6 separate regions of the Homo sapiens genome follow, and regions 1, 2, 3, 4 and 5 are each linked to region 6. The links are contacts of gene promoters, found by promoter capture Hi-C in blood cells and fetal thymus (Javierre and others, 2016). All regions are on one chromosome and are shown on one strand. The core of a region is centred on a gene start or on the middle of the fragment in contact, and the rest is flanking DNA. Distances in the headings are between cores, read along the strand shown.

Region 1 (3,183 bases), core at 24-2,523, 390 kb after region 6:
GCCTCTTGATGTGATTATTTACATAAATTGATTTTTAATTGTTGAGTCAGCCTTTCATATCTGGAATAAATCTCACTTGATTGTGGTGTATAATTCATTTTATACATTGTTGGATTTGCTCTGCTAATATTTTGATGAAGATTTTTGGATTTATGTTTTTGAGAGATTTTGGTCTACAGTTTCCTTTCCTTGTAATGTCTTCATATGGTAAGTCTTGAAATTGGGCAGTGTCAGTCCTCCAACTTTGTCTTTCTGGTTTTTTTATGAGGGTAATGCTGGCCTCAATGAATGAATTTGCAAGTACTCCCTCTGTTTCTATTTTCTGGGAGAGATTGTAGAGAACTGGTATCATTTCTTCTTTAAATGTTTGGTAGAATTTACCAGTGAAACAACCTGGGCTTGGTGCTTTCTTTTTTGGAAGGTTATTAATTATTGATTGAAATTTTAAATTGATATAGGCCTATTCAGTTCATCTATTTCTCCTTGTGCGAGTTTTGGTATAGTTTGTGTCTTTCAAAGAATTAGCCCACCTCATCTAATTTATCCAAATTTGTGTGCACAGAATTGTTTGTAGCCTTTTCTTTTTATGTCCATGGGATTAGTAATGATGATCTCATTTTCTTTTCTCTTTTTTCAGGGAGACAGGGCCTCTCTCTGTGACCCAGGCTGGAATGCAGTGGCACAACCATAGCTCACTGTACCTCCAACTCCTGGGCTTAAGCAATCCTCCTGCCTCAGCCTCCTGAGTAGCTAGGACTACAGGCACGTGCCATGATGCCTGGCTAATTTTCAAATTTTTTGTAGAGATGGGGTCTCATTATGTTGCCCAGGCTGGTCTTGAACACTTGGCCTCAAGTGATCCTCCCACCTCAGCCTCCCAAGTGCTGGGATGACAGGTGTGAGTCACTAAGCCTAGCCCAATTTTCTTTTATAATATTAGTAATTTGTGTTTTCTCTTTTTTTTTTCTTGGTTAGTCTGGCTAGAGGTTTATCAGATTTATTGATCTTTTCAAAGAACCAGCTTTTGGTTTCATTGTGTTTCCTCTACTGATTTCCTATTTTTAATTTCATCAATTTTTGCCAAAATTTATATTATTTATTTTCTGTTTGTTGTAGGCATAAATTACTCTTCCTTTTCTAGTTTCCTCAGGTGGATTTTTAGATTATTGATTTTAGACTTTTCTTCTTTTCTAATATATGCATTCAATGGTATAAATTTTCCTCTAAGCACTGCTTTTGCTGCATCCCAGAAATTTTGATAAGTTGCATTTTCATTTTCATTTAAATTATTTTAAAATTTCTCTGGAGTTTCTTCTTTGACCCATGTGTTATTTAGTATTATGTTATTTAATCTGAAAATATTTTGGAATTTTCCATGCTTTCTGTTATTAATTTCTAGTTTAATTCATTGTGGTTTGAGAGCATAGATTGTATAATTTCTATTCTTTTAAATTTATTTTGGAGTGTTTTATGGCTCAGAATGTGGTGTATTTTGGTGAATGTTCCATGTGATGTCAAGAAGAATATATACTCTGTTGTTGTTGGATGAAGTATTCTATAAATATCATTTAGAGCAAGCTGATGAATGGAACTGTTCAGTCAATTATGTCCTTACTAATTTTATGCCTGCTTGATCCATCAACTACTAAAAGATGTATTAAAATCTTTAACTATAATGGTCAATTTGTTGATTTCTCTTTGCAGTTCTATCAGTTTTTGTCTCACATATTTTGATGCTCTTTTGTTAGATGCATACATATTAAGAATTTCTTCTTGAATAACTGACCCCTTTATCATTATGTAATGCCCTTTCTTTCTTTCTTTTTTTGAGGCAGAGTCTCACTCCGCTGCCCAGGCTGGAGTGCAGTGGAGAGATCATGGCTCATTGCAGCATTGACCTCCTGGGCTCAAGCCATTTTCCCATCTCAGCCTCTGGAGTAGCTGGGACTACAGGAGCATGCCACTATGCCTGGCTAATTTTTAAATTATTTATAGAGATGGGGTTTCATCATGTTACCCAAGCTGGTTTTGAACTCCTAGGCTCAAGCGATCCTCCCTCCTCAGCCTCCAAGTAGCTGGAACTACAGGTGCCTGCCGCTACATCTGGCTAATTTTTTTTTTTTTTTGGTAGAGATAAGGTGTCACTTTGTTGCCCAAGCTGGTCTCGAGCTCTTGGCTCAAGCAGTCCTCCTACCTTGGGCTCTCAAAGTGCTGGAATTACAGGCATGAGCCACTGTGCCAAGCCAAATGCCCTTTCTTATCCCTGATAATTTTCCTTGTTCTGAAGTCCACTTTGTCTGAAATTAATATAGCTGGTCCAGCTTTCTTTTGATTAGTGTTAGTATGGAATATCTTTTTCCAAATCTTTACTGTTGATATATCTGTAACAACATATAATTGCATCTTGTTTTTGTAAATTAATCCACTCTGAAAATCTTTGTATTTTAATTTTTATATTTAGACCATTCACATTTGAAGTGATTATTGATATAGTTGGATTAATATCTACCATGTATGTAACTATTTTCTATTTGTTGCACTTGTTCCTTGCATCTTTCTCCCTCTCTCTCTGCCTTCTCTGGTTTTAACTGGGTATTTTATGAGATTCCATTTTCTCTCCTCTATTAGTATATCAATTATACTCCTTTACAATTATTTCTAGTGGTTTCTCCAGAGTTGCAAAATACATCCATAACTAATCCAAGTCCGTTCTCAAATAACACTTACAGCTTTGTTGGTATTATAGGTACCTTATAACAGAAATCCCAATTCCTCCCTCCCATTTCTTATAATACTGCTATCATTCATTTCAGTTATCCATATAACATAATCACCCAATACACTGTTCCTATGTTTACTTTGAACAATTAATCTATTAGAGGAATTAAGAAAAAGAAATAGGGCCGGGTGAGGTGGCTCATGCCAGTAATCCCAGCACTTTGGGAGACTGAGGTGGGCGGATCATGAGGTCAGGAGTTTGAGACCAGCCTGACCAACATGGTGAAACCTCGTCTCTACTAAAAATACAAAAATTAGCTGGGTGTTGGGGCAGGCACCTGTAATCCCAGCTACTCGGGAGGCTGAGGCAGGAGAATTGCTTGAACCCAGGAGGCGACGGGTACAGTGAGCCGAGATCACACCATTGTACTCCAGCGACAGAGCGAGACTCTGTCTCAAAATAAA
Region 2 (2,940 bases), core at 406-2,905, 490 kb before region 6:
TCTGCCCTGACACTTTTTTGGCATGTTGTCCAACTACAGATTCCCAAACCTGATCCAGATTACCAATTTTACGCATTTCTGCAAGTATACGGAGGGAAAATAAAATCACATACCTTTACATATCATTATTACTATCCCCTGTCATTCTGCATCAGCATAGGTAGGCAGGCTCATGGAACAGATTTTAAGTGTTTTACAATTTATATTTTAAAATATAGCAACTTACTACCTACCATAACATTAGTGGACTGTATTTTTAATGATCGGTGAAAACTTTCAGCCTAGACAGCGAATATATCAGCTTGGAAGGAATTGCTAACTGAACATCTATAATCATTTCCTGAAAATGTGCCCACCAACATGCAAAAGGTTAGAAACACCCAGTTTAATGGTGAGAGTTAGGGATAAAGCAGAAGCCCTAGATGTGCCAAAGTCTTCAATAAATATTTGAAATTGACTGGAAAGAAGGTAGATGACAATGTTGAGGTGGGGACGAGGGCAGTGAGGAAGGTGACACACAGGAAACGGGGGGGTTGGGTAGGGGCAGAGTTGCACAAGAATGGAAAGCAGTTCTCTACAACAGTTCCTCAAAATAGACTAAGGATCGCCTGCATCAGAATCACCTGATTTCCTTGTTTTGAAATTCGGATTTCTGGGCTTCACATTCCAACTCAGTGAGAATCACCACACAGCTAAGAGCAATCTGCATTTTTAACAGGATCCTCAGGTGATTCCTACTGAAATTAAGGTTTGAGAACTGGTTGTTTAGAAGTACCAATAGAGAGTTTAGAAAATGCTGACCCTGCCTTCTAACAATAGAATATTGATAAGTAGAATGTTGGAAGATAATCAGTTTTATAAAACTCAAGATAATTGTGGAGAAGCAGAGAGGCCACTTAAGGGGGGTTAATAGTGTTACAGAACTGGGGATGTGGAGGCTGTTGTAATAATAGCTTTGCTTCTGGCAGATACTTTTTATAGACAGCTAACTGTTAAACTAACAAAGGAGATTTTAAATTAACAGAATTCATCAAACATTTAACATAAGTGTTTTAGTTTGTTTCTTTAAAAAATTTATTATGTAGATGCTTTGGAAGGTTTTGTCCCTTTTGAAGCATGAGATGTTACTGAGAAAATTTCTTGCCAAATGAAGTAATAGACACTCTGCTAGATGTCAAGAATACAAGTGGTGAACAAGATAGATAAGCTTCCTGATCTTAGCATATGGTCTTCGGAATGGGAAGAGAGGATATAGACAAATTAATTTTAATACCATGTGAAAAATGTTGTGCTAGGCCAAGTATAGCATGGTCTGAGTACTGGTGGGAGCATGGAAAGATTACCTGAGTGATTACTATATAAGCTGAGGTCTGAAGGATGACCTAGCCAGATAAAGGGTGAAAAATATTCTCATCAGAAGCAACTGTAACAACCCGAAGGAAGTGTGAGACCATAGAACTGGAAATTCATGTTGTTGGAATGGAGAATGTGAGGGCAGGTGTGTGAGAAATGAGGCTAGAGAGATAAGTAGATAGTAGATCCTGCAAAACCTTGAAAACCATATTGAAGAGTTTAGTCTTTACCTAAAAGGCAATGGAGAGCCACTAAATGCTATAAAAATGGGAGTGTCTCAGTTGGGTTCACATTTTAGAAAACTGTCTCTGTCTAGTTTGAAGAATTGATTGCGGGACTGACAGTACTAGAGACATGGGAAACAAGTTCAGTCATCAAGGGCAAAAGAGGAGTGAGACTTAGGACATTCTCAAGGATATATATTTTAAAACAAATTTACTGAACATTTTGTGTTCTTCATGTGTTGGTTTTACACTACAGTTCAAAAGTATTACCATGCTAAATTTTAAGTTCTAAACTTATGTTTTTAATGTCATAATTATAGTAACCTCTATTAAAATATGCAAAATGGAGACGTTATTTTTCACAGCTTTATGAAAGCTATTACTACAAATATTACTTTGTATTCTTTTAAAAGTACCTAAAATGTACAAAAATGTATTTGGAGCTTTTGCCAAAAGCATATTTTGTTTTAGCTTAATTGTTTGAAAAATATTTTTAAAAACTATTAAATACTCAAGCATTATGCTAAAAGCTTGAATAAAAGGTTAACTCAGGTTTATCCCATTTTATTATACACTTGTTAAGCTTGGCCTTGCAAAGTGTTAAACTTTGAATTGAATGTCAGCAACATAAAAATGCAAATTAGGAATTTTATGTTGTTAATTATAAATGGGTCCATTGTCTCTGAAATATAGTCTGGAAAATATAGGAGTAAATTCAGTAGCAGATACTTTATAAGTTGCTAAGCTAGGCACAGACTTATATAACTGATACACTTAAAAAATTTAAGGGTTGGCCAGGCGCGGTGGCTCATGCCCGTAATCCTAGCACTTTGGGAGGCTGAGGCGGGCGGATTGTCAGAGCTCAGGAGTTCGAGACCAGCCTGGGCAACACGGTGAAACCCTGTCTCTACTAAAATACAAAAGAAATTAGCCAGGTGTGGCAGCGTGTGCCTATATTCCCAGCTACTCAGGAGGCTGAGGCAGGAGAATTGCTTGAACCTGGGAGGCGGAGGTTGCAGTGAGCCAAGATCACGCCATTGCACTACAGCCAGGTGACAGAGCGAGACTCCGTCTCAAAAAAAAAAAAAAATTTCGGGTTATGTAAAGAAAGCACATTTAAAATTTTGGTGAACTGTGAGGCTATATAATATTACTTAGAGAATGAGTATTTTATTGAAAACAACAAACTCATAAAATCCCTAGTATTATCTCACAAGTCATAAATTCGTCTCACATAGCCCCTATTATTTTGTGTTTCATTTAGCTGCCAAACCACATCAGAATGATAGTTCTCTTCAGAATTGGAATTCAACCTATTTGTATCATTTTTGGTTAGGCTCCTTCTGTTAGTAGCAGCTTAGGC
Region 3 (3,119 bases), core at 319-2,818, 260 kb after region 6:
ACAGGTAAGTCACAAGTGCAAAGAATGCTTGAGAATGAGAAAAGCATATATATAAGAACCTTTAAGTTTTTACTTCCAGCTTTGAGCATTAGTTCTTTGCTAGCTTTGAAAAGTATTTTACTTTGTGAAATGTGTGCTGTTTCCATTGTAAGATCTTTTCTAGAATCTGAAGAAAACAGCTTGGTCTTTGAGCTGGACTCAACCTGCCTGATAGCTGAGAATCCTAAGTGCCAGTCACGTTGTCTCCTGTGTGACTGGCAGTTAGGATTCCAGCAGAATGGGAACTCACTCAGTGTGTTTGCCACATTTTAGCCATTTCTCCCAAAGTATACAAATGGTCTGTAGAAACCATTCTAGTCATAAGATTGCCTTTAAAGGGAAAAAGGGAAAGGTGGGGACAGTCCCGCCTCTTAAGAATACCTTAAGTGATTTTCCTAACTATCAGAACTCCTGGAGGCACCTGAATAATCTGCCTTCTCCTATTCTGAGGCTTCCCCCCACCCCCGGGTGTAGCTTATTGTGTGAGAAGAAAATGTTCTAGGGTATGTATGAATGGCTTTGACTACATACTTGCCATCAAGAAACATAATATTTTGTAAGTAATAGAAAATGTGTCATATTTGGGAGGCCGTGATGGGCAGATCACTTGAGCCCAGGAGTTCCAGGCCAGCCTGGGCAACCTGGTGAAACTCCATCTCTACCCAAAGAAGTATATGTATATGTATAGTAGCCAAATGTAGCCAGGCATGGTGGTACATGAGCATGGGCCTGTGGTCCCAGCTACTTGGGAGGCTGAGGTGGGAGAATCACTTGAACCCAGGAGGTCAAGGCTGCAGTGAGCTGTGATTGTGCCACCGCACTCCAGCCTGGGCAATGAGTGAGACCCTGTCTCAAAAATAAAAGCAAAAACAAAAAATGAAAAAAAAAATGTGTCCCTTTTCTACTCCATTTCCCCTGCCTGCTTCGGAGAGGCCTGTAGTAAATAATTAATTAAAATTCTCAATAGAAATAAAGTCTGCTGACATTCTTTAGGGCTCTGTTTTTCTACACTTGTTTTTTGGCATCAACTTGTCAAACAACTATCAAACAGTTAAACTTGTCAAACATTCGTTATACGTTCCAGAACCTCTTGGTCATCTGACAAGAGTGGGGCTTTATGTGTAATGTAAATGATCTTGTGAATATAGCTCTTTTTAAATGTTTGTAACCATTTTCACTGTCTGATCAAAATAATGTAGATTAGAGTTATGGCTAAAGACAAGCTATGGTTGGCCGCAGCACTACCAAGGAGAAATAGTGAGCAAATTATTTCACGGGTTTCTACCTGTAATAATGTAAAGGTATAATTAAATTTGATAATAGCTCAAGCCTTGAGCTTAACAGTACCTGAAAGTTTTCACTGAATTACATTCCTCACCTTTCTGAAATTATTGGTATTTGCAGAAATTCCAAAAATGTTCCTATTTACTTACAGATACTATTAACTTGAAATGAAGATTTAATGGTTTATTCAAAACAGACCACGTGATTGTGATTAGATTTGAGACAGTACAACTTTAAGCAGGTTACTGAGGAGATCACTTGTGTCTTGTTCTTCCATTTGTTTCTGTTTTTTAACCACTTTTAAAAGGAATTACTGACCTATAAAGCTGTACATACTTAATGTATGCATCTTGATGAGTTTGGGAATAAGTGTACATCGTGAAACCATTACCACCGTGAAGGGCATTAACATGTGCACCTCCCAACGTCTTCTCCTGCCCCCTTTATTATTATTAGTGTTCTTTCCATTTGTTTTTGATTTTTAACTGTGGTACACTCTTACTCAGTGAGGTCATGGGGAAGTTGCACACTTAATAGGATGACTTGGTGTATTAGGCTGTTTTTCACTGCCATAAAGAAATACCAGAGACTGGATAATTTATAAAGAGGTTTAATTGGCTCACAGTTCTGTGGGCTGTACAGGCTTCTGCTTCTGGGGAGACCTTAGGAAACACAGTTATGGTGGAGGGGTAAAGGGGAAGCAAGCACGTCTTGCATGGTGGGAGCAGGAGGAAGAGAGAGTGAAGGGGGAAGTGCTACACACTTTTAAACAACTAAATCTCGTGAGAACTCTCTCACTATCATGAGAACAGCCAGGGAGAAGTCAGCCCCCATGATCCAGTCACCTCCCACCAGGCCCCTCCTCCAACATTGAGGATTACAATTTGACATGAGATTTGGGTGGGGACACAGAACCAAACCATATTGCATGGATTGACCCCATTTGTAAATGACGTATGTGTTTGGTATCCCATATTCTTGAATGCTTTCATGTTAGAATTTCTCAGAGTCACTGCAGAACTTGTTGTTAACATTCATTTTATTGTTTGTCCTGATTCTTGGCCCCATAGAAGGCATTACTGATTTTCTAAAAGTCTGCACATTATTACTTTTTGGGGATGGTTTTGTACTGGCTATTAAATTTGGATCCTTCCTAAGAAACTTTGATGACTAATACTTTTAGTACTATATTCTTGGCCTGAAGAAAACTTAAGGAAATCCATTTTCTCACAAATTAGGACACCAGGAGAGTAATGGCACCTATTTTTTTGAGGCAAATATCTGTATTGTATTTCATACTTATGGCTTCCAGAATCCAAAGGGATATTCTTCTTATGCTTTCTTTTTCTGGTACGGACCCTGTCTGCCTTGCTTTTGGCTGTCTGCTTTACTGTTTCATAGTGCTTGATGTTTTCCTTTGTGGATATCTAACCGCCAGTTTGTGTTTTAGAAGGAATTAAATTTCAAAGGTGATCTGTCCTAAAGAATGACTTTTAATTTTGACAAGGTAGGAAATGGAGGGTAATGATGATTCCACAGGGCTGCTGTTAGATGCTCTTGGTTCGGAAATGCACAGGTTTGAAAGGGATCTGAAAGTTGTGTCCCAGCAGTCCTCTAAATGAAGTTGATCTAAACCCTCTAGGCAAATAGTTGACTGTCCTATAGAGACAGAAATTCCCGGGAAATAGCATTAGTAGCCTTTGATTCAGATCTTCACTAATTCTAAGTTATTCCCGGTTATTAAAGGAAGCAGTTGATAGTGATCAGCTTTGTCTCTGGATATGACTTTGGCCATT
Region 4 (2,804 bases), core at 35-2,534, 280 kb after region 6:
AATTATTAATGGTGTTGCTGTACAGTAGCATAGTATGCAGTCTTCAAGTTGCATTTGAAGGTTATATAATAGTAGGGAAATGTCCCCAGTGTAATAAATGGTGTAAAAAAACAAAAGACAATGTATATGTGAAATATGATTCCAATTTTATACATATACACACACATAAAGGAGACTGTAAAGAACTTTGGGAGGCCGAGGCAGGTGGATCACCTGAGGTCAGGAGTTCAAGATCACCCTGGCCAACATGGCAAAACCCCATCTCTACTAAAAATACAAAAATTAGCTGGGCATGGTGGTGCACACCTGTAATCCCACCTACTTGGGAGGCTGAGGCAGGAGAATTGGTTGAACCCGGGAGGTGGAAGTTGCAGTGTGCCGAGATCACACCATTGCACTCCATCCTGGGCAACAGAGTGAGACTCTGTCTCAAAAAAAACAAAACAACAACAACAAAAAGAGATTGTAAAGAAATATACCTAAATGTTCATAATTGTAGTATAATTGCACGATTCATGTTTAATGTTTAATTAAAAAATGTGAGAATATCAGTTTAAAGTGAAAAATCAGTCATGCATTAATGATATTAATAACCTATGCATTTTAATACCGAATATACAGTTGAAGTGTACTTTTTGAAACTTGTGATAATGTGTTTCTTTTAATGCAGGAGACAGTGTTTCACAAAATGATTTTCCTTCTGAAGCTCCCATCTCCTTGAATCTTTCTCATAACATCTGCAATCCCATGTAAGTTTTTTATTTTCCAGCTTTTACAGTATGTTTTGTGTACTGCTTTTTCTACCAATTATTGTGTTTCTTCTTTGTACTTGGTTCTGCAGGTTAAAATATGAAAACTTTTTAAAGATGCAGGAAAGTAAAATCTGATTTTATTAATTCAGGAGTGGCGCAAGTAAACATGGTTCATGTGGGAGAGGCTCAGGTATCGCTATTTTTTTTCAGACAGGTAGCCACGTTGGAAAATACCTAAGTTTTGAGGCCAGCCGTGGTGGTTCACACTTGTAATCCTAGCACTTTGGGAGGCCAGGGTGGGAGGATCTCTTGAGTCCAGGAGTTCAGGACCAGTCTGGGTAACATAATGAAACTCCATCTCTAAAAAGAATTTCGTTTTTTCTTTTTAAATTAGGCGTAGCGGCGCATGCCTGTATTTCCAGCTACTCGCTGAGGCTAAGGTGGGAGGATCCCTTGATCCCAGGAGATCGAGGCTGCAATGAGCTATGATCACACCACTACACTCTAGCCTGGGTAACAGAGCGAGATCCTGTCTCAGAAAAGAACACCTTATTTCTGAATATAGAAGGAGGAAGCAGTAGTTATTATAAAGATGGGAATCATTTACCCTTTGCTAGGCCTTGAAATAAAACTGAGCATTGATAATTGAGGAAATTTTGCAAGAACCTAGTAGATACATGTTTCCAGTTCTGCCCTATGATGATTTCTGCAGCACTGGACAAAATAAACAAGTACAATTTATTGAGTGAGAGACGAGGAGCGTGGGTAAGAAGGAGGAGAGTTCAGTGTGAGAAATGAACTTGGTTTCTTAGGTACCTCCCTCTTGGTAAGAGGACAAAGGATGCAGTTAAGAGGGTGAGTTTGTGAGGAAGGAAACTTGACTAGTGCACAGGAAAGCTCTTCATGGGTTTATTGGGGGTAGGTTGTCAGCAAAGGAGTAAGAGTTGCTGCTAACTGCTAGCCTAGGCACACTCCCCAGTCAGCCTCCTTCCCTTGGGCCACGCATCTCCCTTCTGTACTTTTCTGTCATCTCTGACTAGGGAAGGTGAACTACCTGGAAATACAGACAGGTGGCTACCTGTCTGAAAATCTACCTGACGGGTAGATTTAAAACCACAGGTTACCTCATAGTTATGTTAGTTAATTTTTTTTGTTGTTGGTTATGACAAGACTTTGCTAGATTTGGGAATTTAATATTCCTCAATTCTTTTCTGGCTGTGTAACTTTACATCCTTTATATCTGTATGTTTCTTCCCCAAGAAACTCTTCCCCAAGACTTCAATTGAGTGAAAACTCAATCAGACGTGGTTATACAATATCAGTATTTCCTCGTGCAGAAAAAATGAGTCGTTCCTCCTTTGCCCTCTTCCCCACAGGACCGTGAATAGTCTCCCACAATACGCAGAGCCTTCCTGTCCCAGCCTTCCTGCCGGGCCCACAGGTGTTGAAGAAGATAAAGGTGAGATGCATTCGTCTTGCTGCAGACATCAGCCAAGGGTTCTGTGCTGTCTGTATTCCTGGCTGATGAGTTTGAGAAGACAGAGCAGGCGGGGTGGGACAGGGCCATTTCCCCACCAGCCCCTTCTGCAAGCCACACGTTCATACATCAGGAAGGCACCTACTCTGTGGACGGGCATCATTGGGGCCCCAGCTGACCTTGTGCATCAATAGTGAGCCCCCTCCCTACAGCTGAGGCACAGATGCCCTATGTCCTGGAATAATCCCAGGCCCCTCACAGCAGACTCCTGATTCATTTAGTTCACCTTCCCTAGTCAGAGATGACAGAAAAGTACAGAAGGTAGATGCGTGGCCCAAGGGAAGGAGGCTGATTGGGGAGTGTGCCTAGGCTGAGGGTGCAGCACCTCACCTGCTTACCACTTTCCCTGGCCTGCTTCCCTTCCTCCCCAACTCACTTTGTGTTAGAAGCCTACTAATTCAGCCTCAGCAGCCTTGGGGACCCGCCTTGCTCAGGCATCAGTGCTGAGACCTTCTGCCTGCGGGGAAGGCAGTTGCCTAGGTGCATGGAAGTAGGAATGGGTGGGAAGGAAACCT
Region 5 (3,105 bases), core at 279-2,778, 330 kb after region 6:
TATATATATATTCCATTACTTCTGTCCCTCCAGAGAACCCTAATACAGTTCTTGCTTTTCTAGTTCCTTGAAGTGTATCATTAGGTAAGTTTATTTGATGTATTTTTACTTTCTTGATGTAGACATTTATTGCTATAAACCTCCTTCTTAGTATTGCTTTTGCTGTATCTTATAGATTTGGGTATGTTATATTTCCATTTCTATTTGTTTCAAGAAATTTTAATTTTTTCTTCTTAATTTCTTCATTGACCCATTGGTCATTCAGGAGCATGTTGTTTCATTTTTATGTGTATGTGTAGTTTCCAAGATTCCTCTTGTTATTGACTTCTAGCTTTATTCCATTGTGGTCAAAAACAATATTTGATATGATTTCTCCTTTTTGAGTTTGTTGAGACTTGTTTTGTGGGCTAAAATATGGCAGACTCTGGAGAATGTTCCATGTGCTGATTCAAAAGAATGTGTATTCTGCAGCAGTTGGGTGAAATGCTCTGCAAATGTCAGTTAGGTCTATTTGGTCTAGTGTGTAGTTTAATTCTGATGTTTCCTTGTTGATTTGCTGTCTGCATGACTTGTCCATTGAAGTCCCTTACTATTACTGTACTGCAGTCTACGTCTCCCTTGAGCTCCATTATGTTTGCCTTATATACTTCGGTGCTCTGCTGTTGGGTGCATAGATATTTATAATTGTTATAGCCTCTTGCAAATCGACCCCTTTATTCTCATATAGTGACCTTCTTTGGCTCTTTTTATAGTTTTTTACTTTATTTTATCTGACATAAGTATAGCTACTCCTGTTTTTTTGTTTGTTTTTACTTGCATGGAATATCATTTTTCATCACTTCACTTTCAATTTATGTGGGTTTTTATAGATGAGGTGGGTTTCTTATAGCTGGATCTTGTTTCATTATCCATTCAGCCATTTTATGTCTTTTAATTGAAGAATTAAATCCATTTACATTTAGTGTTATTATTGATAAGGGCTTACTACTGCTATTTTGTTGCTTGTGTTCTCCTTTTTAAACTCCTTTCTTACTGTCTTCCTTTGTGGTTAAGTGATTGTTTTGGTAGTATGTTTTAATTTATTGCTTTTTATTTTTAGTGTATCTATTATAGGTTTTTGCATTGTGGTCACCATGAAGCTTACAAAAAATGTCTTATAGATATAACAAGTTGTTTTAAAGAGATGATAATTTATCTTAGATCAGAAAAAAGAATAGAAACAAAGAACAAACTTAAAAAACAAAAAACCCTCTATACATTGACTCCAATACCCCCCACATTTTGACTTTTCTTTTCTCAGTTTACATACTTTTATATTGTCTGTCTGTTAATAAGTTGCTATAGCTATTATTGTTTTGCATATACTTGCCTTATAGGTTTCCTACTAGAGTTTTGAGTGGATTGCATACCATAATTACAGCACTGGAGTATTCTTGGGTTGTCTTCATACTAGTGGGTTTTATACCTTCAAATGTTTTCTTTTTGCATGTTAGTGTTTTTTTTTTCTTTCAAATTGAAGAACTCCCTTTAGCATTTCTTGTAAGACAGGTCTGGTGGTTGTGACTTCTCTTAGCTTTTGTTTGTCTGGGAAGAGTTAATTTCTCTTTCATATATGAAGAATAGCCTTTCCAAATATAGTATTCTTGGGTGGCAGGGTTTTTTCAGAACATTGAAAATGTTGTTGCGTACCCTCCTGGCCTGTATGGTTTTCGTTGATAAGTCTGTTGCCAGATGAATTGGAGTTTCTTTGTATGTTACTTGCTTCTTTTCTCTTGCTGCTTTTAGGATCCTCTCTTTATCCTTGACATTTGGGAGTTTGATTATTTTATGCCTTGATGTAGTCTTATTTGGGATGAATCTGTTTGGTATTCTCTGACCTTCCTCTACATGGACATTTATATCTTTTTCAATTTTTGGAAAGCTTTCTGTTACTATTTATTTGAATAAGCTTTCCATCCCTTGCTCTTGCTCAACTACCTCTTGAACAACAATAAATTTTAGACTTGGTCATTTCCATGTATTTTAGGTAAACTTTCTTCCTGTTCAATCTTTTTTCTCTTTTGACTGTGTGATATTGAATAGGCTATCTTCAAGCCAACTGATTCCTTCCTTTGCTTGATCTATTCTGCTGTTGAGACCCTCTAATAAATTTTTCATTTCAGCAAATGTTTTTTCAGTTCCAAGATTTGTTTGATTTTTAAAATTATTATTTCAATCTCTTTGTTAAATTTCTCTGATAAATTTCTGAATTGCTTTTCTGTGTTATCCTGAAGGCCACTGAGTTTCCTTAAAATTGCTATTTTGAATTATTTGTCAGAGAGCTCATGTATCGCCATCTTCTTAGGGCCTGTCATGGGTATCTTGCTTTGTCCAGTTAGGGAGGTTTTGGTTCCCTATTTGCTGTTGTTTCTTGTGGATATACCTCTATGTCTTTGCATTGAAGGATTTGTTATTTATTCCAGTCTTTTCTGGCTTGTTTTGGTTTTTATTTGGTATATTTGCCTAGAGATTCTTTGTAATTTACTTGTTAATTTCTTATTTCCCCCACCACTAAGTTGCCACCTCCTTTTTGGTGCTAGATGATGCCTTAAGCACAGGTTTGCCTCAGCTCTAGCAAAGAATCAGAGTGCTGCAAGTCCCAAATGGAAGAAGTCCCAGTGGGGATATCTTGCCAATTTGGGAAGGCTGGCTAGAGGTTCATGCCCAAGGGACCTGTGGAAGGTAATTCCTAAAGCTAGTGCTGCTAAACAGTCACTCTGATTTGGCATCTCCTTTGGCTTAATTACAGAGCAGAGTTTCCAGGGCTGGGCAAGGTAGTCCCACCTCTCACCTTGACTTTTGCTGTTTGCAGGGATATTTCTTTCTTCAGGCACTTGTGATGCTTTCTGTGGGTTGAGGCAGGTACAGTTCCCCTGCCAGGGAGCCGAAGGTGATGGGGAAGCTGCTTGTCGACCTCTATCTCACTTTTTCCAGGGTAGAAACTATGAGTGGGGAGGAATTTTCCCCATGCTTCATGACAGGCAGATTGTGGGGAGGGGCATCGTGGATGTGGAAATCTGATTCTCTTAGTCTATTCCAGGCTTTTTCACTTGTCTGTGGCCCCAG
Region 6 (3,111 bases), core at 10-2,509:
GTATATACCACTACTGTAGTTACTTAATGTACTCATTTATCATTTTAAAATTACCTTATGTACCATCAGTTACATGGTATAACTCTTACAGGAAAAACCAAATTAATGGAACTCTGCAATTCAATGTACCCCTTCCTCTGCCTCCAGCAGAAGCAACAGGGGACATAAATTCCAACTTTAGATGCTACTCTTATAGCATCTACAAGACTTACTACACTGTGTGTGTGTGTGTGTGTGTGTGTGCGTGCGTGTGTGTGTGTTACAGAGTCTCACTCTGTCGCCCAGGCTGGAGTGCAGTGGCGGGGTCTTGGCTCACTGCAACCTCTGCCTCCTGGGTCCAAGCGATTCTCCTGCCTCAGCCTCCCGAGTAGCTGGGATTGTACAGGCGTCCGCCACCACGCCTGGCTAATTTTTGTATTTTTATTAGAGATGGGATTTCACCATGTTGGCCAGGCTGGTCTCAAACTCCCTACCTCAAGTGATTTGCCCGCCTCGGCCTCCCAAATTGCTGGGATTACAGGTGTGAGCCACAGCGCCCAACCGTACTTCTTACACCTAAAAATGGTTCAAAACACCATAGAATAATTTTCAAAATAATTGAATTCTGAGTTAAAATTTTTCAGCACTTTCAGGGGCCTGAGCTTTTGCTATGAATCTGGATCTATTCTCAAGCCATGAAGTAGCGTATTTTTGACCATGTTGATTTGAAATTCATTCCGTTGTTTCCTTCTTTTTTAAAACCTAAGGGAAAAACAAACAGACATACACAGGATTTGAAAAGCTGGAAAGCAGTGGGTAGCGGCTCGGGAGAAGATGAGGGGTCAGATTAGAAGACGAGAAAGGAATCCAGTCCGCCCCAGACAGGACAAGTCCGGAAGGATGGAGGCAGCGTTTCCTTCCTCAACAGCCTAAACGCCTCTATTTTTTACATCCAAACTTAGGCCATATTTCTGCGGCGCCAAGAAAACGCAGTAAAAGCAAAGGCAAGATGTCCTTAAAAAAAAAAAAGGTCACATTCACAGAATACCGAGGAGACGGAGGCAGCTCTGCAACCCGTCCACTGAGACGCGGACACGCTCCCCACAGCCCCGGCCCCAGGCCCGCGCCCCTTCCCCCGCCGGCGGCTCGGATGGGTCGCTAGGGGTCGCTGCGCGCCGCGCGGGCGAGGACCGGCCTCTTTCCCCCACCTCCACCGTCTCGCTGCTCCGCCCCCGCGGCGTAGTCGGCGCCAAAATCAAACGCGTCCTGGCCTGTCCCGCCCCTCTCCCCAAGCGCGGGCCCGGCCAGCGGAAGCCCCTGCGCCCGCGCCATGGTAAGGACTGAGGCTACGGTCCCGCGTCTTCTTCCTCCCTAGTGTGTGGGCTTCGCCGCCCCTCGGCTGCATGTGGATCCCGGCCTGGCGTTGACCGCCATTCCGGGCCGCGGGAGCGGTCGCCCGGCTCTCGGCCTCACCGTGTAGGGGCCCAGCCCGGCCCCGCCGCAGCCACTCCGCACTCTGCGGCGTTCCCCGCCGCTCCTGTCCGGAGTCCCGAGGCGCGGGGGCATCCGCGGCCTCCCCGCCGGCTGCACCCCGCGTCTGTCCCCAGGGCCCGTTCGGGCGGGTTAGGTTAGAACGCGGGAAGCGTTCGCGAACGTGACCCGAGAACTTCACCAACCTGGATTTATCTAAAAGACCACGGGGCCCTTGAGAACCTGGGCTCCCTACGCCTCCAGCTTCGGCCCCGCGTGGTGTAGCCCCCCCCATTAAGAACGGGGAGAGAAAGCGCAAGTGGGCGGGAGGGACTGCGGGGAGCGAACGTCTTGATCCCAAAGCGCACTCCTGGTTTGTCACCATTGAGTGGTTTTCTGTATTGTAATATGTAGAGCACATTCCAGAACTGCTCAGTTTCGAGTTACCTAATGGATCTTCACTGTGTGCCAATTAGTCGATTTCTGTGAAAACGCCCCGGTTTCTGCCAAAGGGCAGGAGTCGCTGCTCTTGTGCCGGGTGCTGCTGGTTGTGTAGGGCGCTGTTGCTTTTTTAAGGACGCTCTGCACTGAATTAGGCTTCCTCGTGGGTCATGATCAGTTAAGTCCTGGTAAGATCGGCTTTGTGAGCTTAACGTCTTTCTGCTCATCAAATCATTTTCATAAACCTTCAAAGTTTCATGCCGTTTTTTCTGCTTCAGTTGGCGAAGAATCAACATCTGGTTAAATGGATCTAAGATTTTAATATCTTCATTTACTTACGTGGCCGTTAAATGTTGCCGAGCTAAGGGGGGCAGGGTGGGACACCAGGATCCAGTTGTATGGTATTTATTTGAAGATATTTGTCCAGATGTAGTTATAAATGATAACGGCTTCTTTGTGGTTAAACTAACAACCCAGCCACCTGGGCGTGAAGTGCTCTAAGGAGCCAAACAGGACTACAGTTAAAACAAATCTGTTAGCAGTGCCCTTCTGTGTTACAATTTTTCTCTGCAGAGTTGCTGGCCTCGTATAACTGACTTGGAGAACTGTGCAGCTCAAACGCGCGTTGTCCTTTTACCTAATCTATCTCTCTACACATGAATCACCTGCTAATACTAAATGTGTTAACTCTTTAGAAGCTTACCTCCGATAATAGAGAATCCTTTTAAAAAATTAAAGCTTTTGATAAGATGTGGACTTCCTATTTTTTAATATGTGATCGAGAAATAAATTTAGTGTTGGTCAAAGGTAAACTTTTGATTGATTATGAATTAATAGCTGTTTTCATTTGGTTAGGCATCCTAAGTAAATAGTTAATGAGTTCAGGCAATTTTTGAAATTGGAGAAGTGCAGTGCTGAACTCTGAGAGCAGCAGTGATGTCTACTTAATAATTCTTCATAATTTTATCGTAATTGATTAGTAGGGCTGGCTGTAGGAATTCCATAACTTCTAACTGAGAAGGTTCCTCAGATAACATGATTTTTTAAGTGGTTTAAAATACTTCCAGAAAGCTTCATAGTCCTTGAGTCAGGTTTTGAGTCTCCTGACTTACTAATTTGAATGCATCTCTAACTTATACTATCAGGTTTTTCCTAGTCTTAATTAAATATTAGATAAATCCTCATTGATTTTTTTGAGAAGTTTCTAAATATGAGTATTAA

The links. Contacts are between HindIII fragments. The CHiCAGO score rates a contact against its expected background, and 5 or more counts as called.
Region 1: a contact is called between a fragment that was not itself captured here and the fragment with the promoter of MND1 in region 6, in 1 of 17 cell types (M2 macrophages). The highest score is 7.2, in M2 macrophages.
Region 2: a fragment that was not itself captured here is called in contact with the fragment with the promoter of MND1 in region 6 in 4 of 17 cell types (naive B cells, total B cells, naive CD8 T cells and 1 more); the score reaches 9.9 in naive B cells.
Region 3: a contact is called between a fragment that was not itself captured here and the fragment with the promoter of MND1 in region 6, in 10 of 17 cell types (activated CD4 T cells, naive CD4 T cells, non-activated CD4 T cells and 7 more). The highest score is 11.8, in activated CD4 T cells.
Region 4: a fragment that was not itself captured here is called in contact with the fragment with the promoter of MND1 in region 6 in 10 of 17 cell types (activated CD4 T cells, naive CD4 T cells, non-activated CD4 T cells and 7 more); the score reaches 10.3 in activated CD4 T cells.
Region 5: a contact is called between a fragment that was not itself captured here and the fragment with the promoter of MND1 in region 6, in 1 of 17 cell types (endothelial precursors). The highest score is 5.1, in endothelial precursors.

The regions. Positions count from the first base shown.
Region 1 is chr4:153,736,240-153,739,422 of GRCh38, forward strand. The region is part of intron 3 of RNF175 (ring finger protein 175); the gene reads right to left. Among named protein-coding and RNA genes, the nearest start is that of RNF175, 22 kb to the right of the region's middle. The HindIII fragment of the contact is 8,364 bases long and covers 1-3,183 here.
Region 2 is chr4:152,849,980-152,852,919 of GRCh38, forward strand. The region is part of intron 2 of ARFIP1 (ARF interacting protein 1); the gene reads left to right. Among named protein-coding and RNA genes, the nearest start is that of ARFIP1, 71 kb to the left of the region's middle. RefSeq lists enhancers at 438-732, 619-1,277. The HindIII fragment of the contact is 900 bases long and covers 1,206-2,105 here.
Region 3 is chr4:153,607,228-153,610,346 of GRCh38, forward strand. The region is part of intron 25 of TMEM131L (transmembrane 131 like); the gene reads left to right. Among named protein-coding and RNA genes, the nearest start is that of TLR2, 75 kb to the right of the region's middle. The HindIII fragment of the contact is 8,401 bases long and covers 1-3,119 here.
Region 4 is chr4:153,625,477-153,628,280 of GRCh38, forward strand. TMEM131L (transmembrane 131 like) reads left to right here. Exons shown (of 35, transcript NM_001131007.2): 30 at 671-749; 31 at 2,129-2,211. Among named protein-coding and RNA genes, the nearest start is that of TLR2, 57 kb to the right of the region's middle. The HindIII fragment of the contact is 9,544 bases long and covers 1-2,804 here.
Region 5 is chr4:153,673,593-153,676,697 of GRCh38, forward strand. It overlaps the pseudogene LOC100419170. Among named protein-coding and RNA genes, the nearest start is that of TLR2, 9.1 kb to the right of the region's middle. The HindIII fragment of the contact is 782 bases long and covers 1,138-1,919 here.
Region 6 is chr4:153,343,429-153,346,539 of GRCh38, forward strand. It overlaps MND1 (meiotic nuclear divisions 1), which reads left to right and starts at 1,260. Exons shown (of 8, transcript NM_032117.4): 1 at 1,260-1,312. The coding sequence starts at 1,310. RefSeq lists silencers at 1,029-1,338, 1,469-1,628 and enhancers at 2,109-2,168, 2,249-2,368. The HindIII fragment of the contact is 6,712 bases long and covers 1-2,586 here.